2 separate regions of the Homo sapiens genome follow, and region 2 is linked to region 1. Evidence: promoter capture Hi-C in 16 types of primary human blood cells and fetal thymus (Javierre and others, 2016). All regions are on one chromosome and are shown on one strand. The core of a region is centred on a gene start or on the middle of the fragment in contact, and the rest is flanking DNA. Distances in the headings are between cores, read along the strand shown.

What was found. Contacts are between HindIII fragments. The CHiCAGO score rates a contact against its expected background, and 5 or more counts as called.
Region 2: a fragment that was not itself captured here is called in contact with the fragment with the promoter of IL15 in region 1 in 1 of 17 cell types (total CD4 T cells); the score reaches 5.2 in total CD4 T cells.

Annotation. Positions count from the first base shown.
Region 1 is chr4:141,635,176-141,638,128 of GRCh38, forward strand. IL15 (interleukin 15) reads left to right here and starts at 1,408. Exons shown (of 8, transcript NM_000585.5): 1 at 1,408-1,573. RefSeq lists an enhancer at 1,321-1,410. The HindIII fragment of the contact is 10,361 bases long and covers 1,100-2,953 here.
Region 2 is chr4:142,856,347-142,859,299 of GRCh38, forward strand. All of the region lies in intron 3 of USP38-DT (USP38 divergent transcript), which reads right to left. LOC124900788 (a long non-coding RNA gene) reads left to right here. Exons shown (of 2, transcript XR_007058286.1): 2 at 886-1,063. Among named protein-coding and RNA genes, the nearest start is that of INPP4B, 12 kb to the left of the region's middle. The HindIII fragment of the contact is 4,240 bases long and covers 1-2,953 here.

The DNA of each region.
Region 1 (2,953 bases), core at 158-2,657:
CCTATTCTCTATCTTCACACATATGCATATCAGTCCTTCCGTGGCTGCTATATTCTTGTGGTGAGATCCAAACCAGCTGCAGTCTTGCTCTCCCAGTGCATGCTCATTCTGCAAATCAGAGCTTCAATGTATTGCTATGAAAAATTCTGACTGGTCTTGAAATCCATTGACACCATCACAAGAAAATTCAACATGACATCGTCATGAACAGAAATGGATGATGGCTTCATATTCTTAAATATAATTTCCAACTATGGTGAAATTTTGAATGGTTGTAAAAACTGTTTTTGCATTTTTATACCTCACTTATTTTGTTAATGGAGACTATCTAGAGTTTGATGTAATTCTCATCAAAAAGTCCATCAGTAATTATTTCAAATATAAAACTGATATCAAAAAATTGAGTTAATGAAAATAAACTCAAATTTTTCATAAAAATATGAAATTATATTATACGGAACTTTATGTACATGGAAAGTGAATAATTTCTATTATTTTTCTATTTGATATTTATCATATTTATGTAATTAAAAACATAATTAAATTTTAAACTAAATTAAACTGCGCTCCAGGAAGACATCATTTTCTCTGAACCATGACTCTGAAAATTTGGAAAGCACCGTACAAGAGGGATTTTCAGTGATTCACAAGAGTGCAAGATTCTGCAAAGTACTTTCAAAACTAAGCGTGAGATCTTTGCTACTGCCTTTATGGCATGCAAATCACTCAGCCTCAACTCAGTTCCTTCCTCCAATGTAAAAATACTACAAGAACAACATCTCACGCTTCCATCAAATGGGACCATGTGTGATATTTTACACTGGACTACACAATAGGCTGGAAAAGTGATCCGCAGAGAGGCTCATTGCTCTAAGTTCACTCCCTGTACCAACTGTCTTGCACAAAGCTGCCACCCGGGTGTCTTCTTCCAACATTTCCCCTAGTTGGACTTCAAAGTTTCCTTCTTGCAGCCTGTGCGGGGACCAAGAGGCCGGTCTAGAGTAGCCGCCCAGCATCCAGATCCGACATCCTTTTCCCTTTCCTCAGGAAGACTTGGATGCGCGCCAGCCCAGCCCGGGTCTCCAGGTTCAGCTGCGGAAGCTTCCCACATGGTGCCCGTCGCTTGGGATGCGGCTATCCTTGTGCCTTCTCTGCAGGTGTCCCGGCAGGTAGAGGAGGAGACCGGTGGCTGGTGTTCCTGCAGGGCGGGGCTGGGGCTCCTCGATGTCCTTGCGCTTGCCCTGCAAGTTCTGCGCCCCAGGCCCCGGCAGGGACGGAAACAGGCCGGGAAGCAGTGACACCTGGGGCAGTCAGTCATCCAGGAGCCGCCGCCACCCGCCCCACCCCCAGTCTCCGCGGGAGGTGTTTGTCTTCGCCTATGCTCCCGGCTCTTTCTCTTTCACTTTTCTTTTCGCCAGGGGTTGGGACTCCGGGTGGCAGGCGCCCGGGGGAATCCCAGCTGACTCGCTCACTGCCTTCGAAGTCCGGCGCCCCCCGGGAGGGAACTGGGTGGCCGCACCCTCCCGGCTGCGGTGGCTGTCGCCCCCCACCCTGCAGCCAGGACTCGATGGAGGTACAGAGCTCGGCTTCTTTGCCTTGGGAGGGGAGTGGTGGTGGTTGAAAGGGCGATGGAATTTTCCCCGAAAGCCTACGCCCAGGGCCCCTCCCAGCTCCAGCGTTACCCTCCGGTCTATCCTACTGGCCGAGCTGCCCCGCCTTCTCATGGGGAAAACTTAGCCGCAACTTCAATTTTTGGTTTTTCCTTTAATGACACTTCTGAGGCTCTCCTAGCCATCCTCCCGCTTCCGGAGGAGCGCAGATCGCAGGTCCCTTTGCCCCTGGCGTGCGACTCCCTACTGCGCTGCGCTCTTACGGCGTTCCAGGCTGCTGGCTAGCGCAAGGCGGGCCGGGCACCCCGCGCTCCGCTGGGAGGGTGAGGGACGCGCGTCTGGCGGCCCCAGCCAAGCTGCGGGTTTCTGAGAAGACGCTGTCCCGCAGCCCTGAGGGCTGAGTTCTGCACCCAGTCAAGCTCAGGAAGGCCAAGAAAAGGTACCGCAGCTCCCCACTTCCTAACTGCTCCCGTCCCAAACTCATTGTGGGCCGGTGCAGATGTCTGTGCGTGCGCGTCTATCCCTACCTTTGCAAAATCAAATTATCGCCCTCTTCTTTGCTTGCACACGTCTTCTGGGAGAGAAATTTGCAGGAATGGTCAGTGCTTGGCAGTCAGGCCTGGGTCTGTATTGGTTCCAACTCTGCGCCAGCCAGTTATCTCTTAGAGAAGCGATAGTGTATCTAGAATGTCGAAGGAACTTGGAAAAAATACGAGCGAATTTCACTGAAATAAAATCATTATTCAAGGTGGCTTTTAAATGAAAATCCAGCCAATTTTTTCAAGTGTTATTAAGACCGCATGTAGCAAGGGTATATAGTTCATTTGACTTTATGTAATTCCATGCATTAAAAACTATGTTGACTTCAAAGTATGTCTAAACCAAACTAATTCTTAAATGATGCTTACAACAGATTCTTAAATAGGATGAGTCAGCAATTTCAAAACTGGAAGTAAAGTGGTGGTCACCAGCTAGTTTCCATTATATATTTTTAAACTACTATCTAATATTATGATACTGGTGGTGGCCAACTAAGTGGACGTCATCCTTATCTTGTCAGTGTGGTGAAAGAGGCCATATTAGCTAGGCTGAATTTTTGCTCAGGTATTACAGAATAAACTGGTGATTATGCATCCTGCCATGTAGAGGTTATAAGGTGAACCATTCTACTGAAAGCATCAAGATACAATACACTTTTGGAAGGCCGAGGCGAGAGGATAGCTTGAGACCAGGAGTTCCAGTTTATAGTGAGCTATATGATCTGCCACTGCACTCCAGCCTGTCAAAAAATAAATAAATGAATAAAAAAGATATAATACAGGTTAAATTTTTAAACTCCTGTT
Region 2 (2,953 bases), core at 297-2,796, 1.2 Mb after region 1:
TATATTCTACAGTGGGAGTTCTAAAATAGTGGGAAGGGGTAAACAGCTCTGTAAGATGATGAAAAGTGTTGTCTTCTAGATGATTCTGGGTCCTACCAAATTTATGAGCATGATGTATTTTGGAGGAAGGTTTTGAACTGAGGGATAGGGTTAGTGGATAAGGGAGAAACTGGATTTGCCTCTTGCTGGACGTCAAAAGACTTTAGGGGAACGGGACCCCAGGAAGGGAACCCATAACCAAAGGTATTTTTCTTTTAAAACTGGGAAATACTGCCTGTAACATGTTGGCAGAACAAGTTGCATCCCTTCAGCACCCCCATTTGCTCCATCCCCGTATTTTAGCTCAGAATGCTGCAGCAGAATATGATAGACTGGGTGGCTTAAACCACAAACATTTATTGCTCACAGTTTTGGGGGATGGAAACTCCAAGTTCAAAGTGCCGGCAGTTTCTGTGTCTTGATTCTTGATTCATAGACAGCCATCTTCTCATCATATCTTCACATGGTCTCACCAGACTAATCATTTCTTCATGCCTCTTCCTTATAAGGACACTAATCTCATTCATGAGAACTCCACCCTCATGACTTAATTACTTAATTAGTAGCCAAAGCCCCACCTCCTAAGATTATCACATTGCAGATTCGCATTTCAACATATGAATTTGGAAAGAAGGAGAAAACATTAAATTAAATCCATAACACTCCCCATCCCACGTACTCTTCATGAAGGACTTCAGAAGTATAGAAGACTAAGAAATCGCATGGTATTTTTTCTTTTTCTTCCTCCACTGTCATTCCTTCTTGTGCTTACCATCCATCTCCCAGGTGTAAAGTAGAGTCAGTCACAGAATCTTAGCCTAACCTGATAACTTTGTTCCTTCCCAGGATGAGCAAGGGAGGCAGCAACAGTCTGGAGAAACCAGCCATGGTGTTGGAACCAGAAGATGATTAGGTAAAGGGGCTTTCCAAACCAGAACAAATGGGTGGAATATATAAACATGTTTTGGATCAAAAAAAAAATACTAGACTTCCTAAAATAAAACAGGATGACAGCCCTAACTAATCTTATTTGTTAAAGGAAGTGTGATCCTTGAAAGCTGAAGAAATTGCAAATGTTTGGGTGATAGTTACAAGGAATACAGACACACTGGGCAAACATGAAATACTAGGAGTCTGCGGTATTTGGCCTGTAATGGTGGGTCCCTTCTCCCTGTATCTGTTATTTTTCTCTGCCAGAGAAGTTGCTGGCATTGGTGTTACTGGGGTCCCAGTTACTTTCTACTACATAGCTACGAGGGGAGGGATGAGGAAAACTTGGGGAACTTGCCATCCAGGACCACAGTCTTGGTATCTTCTGCATGCTTCCCTTGGATAATTAATACTTCTCAGCAATTTTCATTGACTGTGCTTCTATTTAAAGTTAACCCTTTCCTCTCCTCCCACTAACTGAATGATCTCCATTCTCCTCAGTCTAAATTGCAAAGGGTAGCATTAGATTGAGGTCATTAACATCTCTCCTGTTAAAAAGAGAGCCTCTTGCAGCAAGCTGCCTCATAGGTTGCAGACCCATACATGGGTAAGCTAGCCTTAGATCAGATGTCCATGCTCTAAAGAGCATCTTAGCCGGGTGTAGTGGCTCAAGCCTGTAATCCCAGCACTTTGGAAGGCCGGGGTGGGCAGATCCCCTGAAGTCAGGAGTTTGAGATCAGCCTGATCAACAGGGTGAAACCCTGTCTCTCTAAAAATACAAAATTAGCCAGGCATGGTGGTGGGTGCCTGTAATCCCAGCTACTCGGGAGGCTGAAGCAGGAGAATCACTTGAACGCAGGAGGTGGAGGTTGCAGTGAGCCAAGATTGCGCCACTGCACTCCATCCTGGGTGACAAGAATGAAACTCCTCAAAAAAAAAAAAAAAAAGAGCATCCTAGCATTGTGTCTGAGAGCAGAGAGCTGTGAGCTGGGGATTTCAGCTTGAAGGGGATATTAGCCACCAGGCTAATAGAGGTCCTTAATGAAATGAATACACATTCACATAAGAAAGTAGCCTTTGATGAAAACACACACACATACAGTGAAATATGTTTCTACTAAAGGTCATGGAATCAAAGAGAGAGGTTCAAGTACTTGTCACCACTACAGACCACACTTATAGATGGGGTTAAGCCAAAACAGCATAGGAAAGTCAAATCTCTTACCGTTCAGGTCAAACTCCTAATATGCTATTAATTGTGGAGCTTTATCTTTCTAAAATGAGAGGAACACTGCCGGGTCTTTGTTCTGCTTTCTACACTAAAACATGCAGTTGTGGCTTTTATTAGGTCTGAAAGAGAAAGCATACTACGTGAAATAGTAAACCACAGCTTGATTGTCTCTTGATAATCTATATTCCAGGGAGGCTGCAGTTTATTTATCCAAGTATTGATGAAAGGCTAAATTTTTATAATGTACAAGCCAATTTAAACTGTTCTTAAAATGAATAAAGAAGAAAAGTCATACCTACTTGCACAATTACATAATTACATAGTTTTCAGCAATCTCTGAATGTTTCTTTCTTTTAAATTTTCTTGAGACGTAGCTATTTTTATATCACCTGTAGGTAGATTTTTTTTCTGGGAATCTGAGGAATAAAATTAAAGGTAAATGTGACTGGCTTCTATCTCAGTGACAGACAATATTCCCAATCCAAATGGCTTATTGGTGAAGAGGCTCAGAATCAATATTTCAGAGACTTGTTTTATCAAAGCCTGTAGTTCCTGGCCACTGCATTTCTCCTCTCCTTGTAGCTGAGCCATTTGACACTTCTCAGTTCCAAAGGCCTTTCATGAGAGGGTGTTGAAGACAGACACATGATACTGGAAGAGCCAGGTTTGAGATATTTATTGTTCATCCCTCCCAGAGCCTGTGTCCAGTTCTACTGACTGTATTTTTCCTTGTTAGTGAACCCCCACATTAAA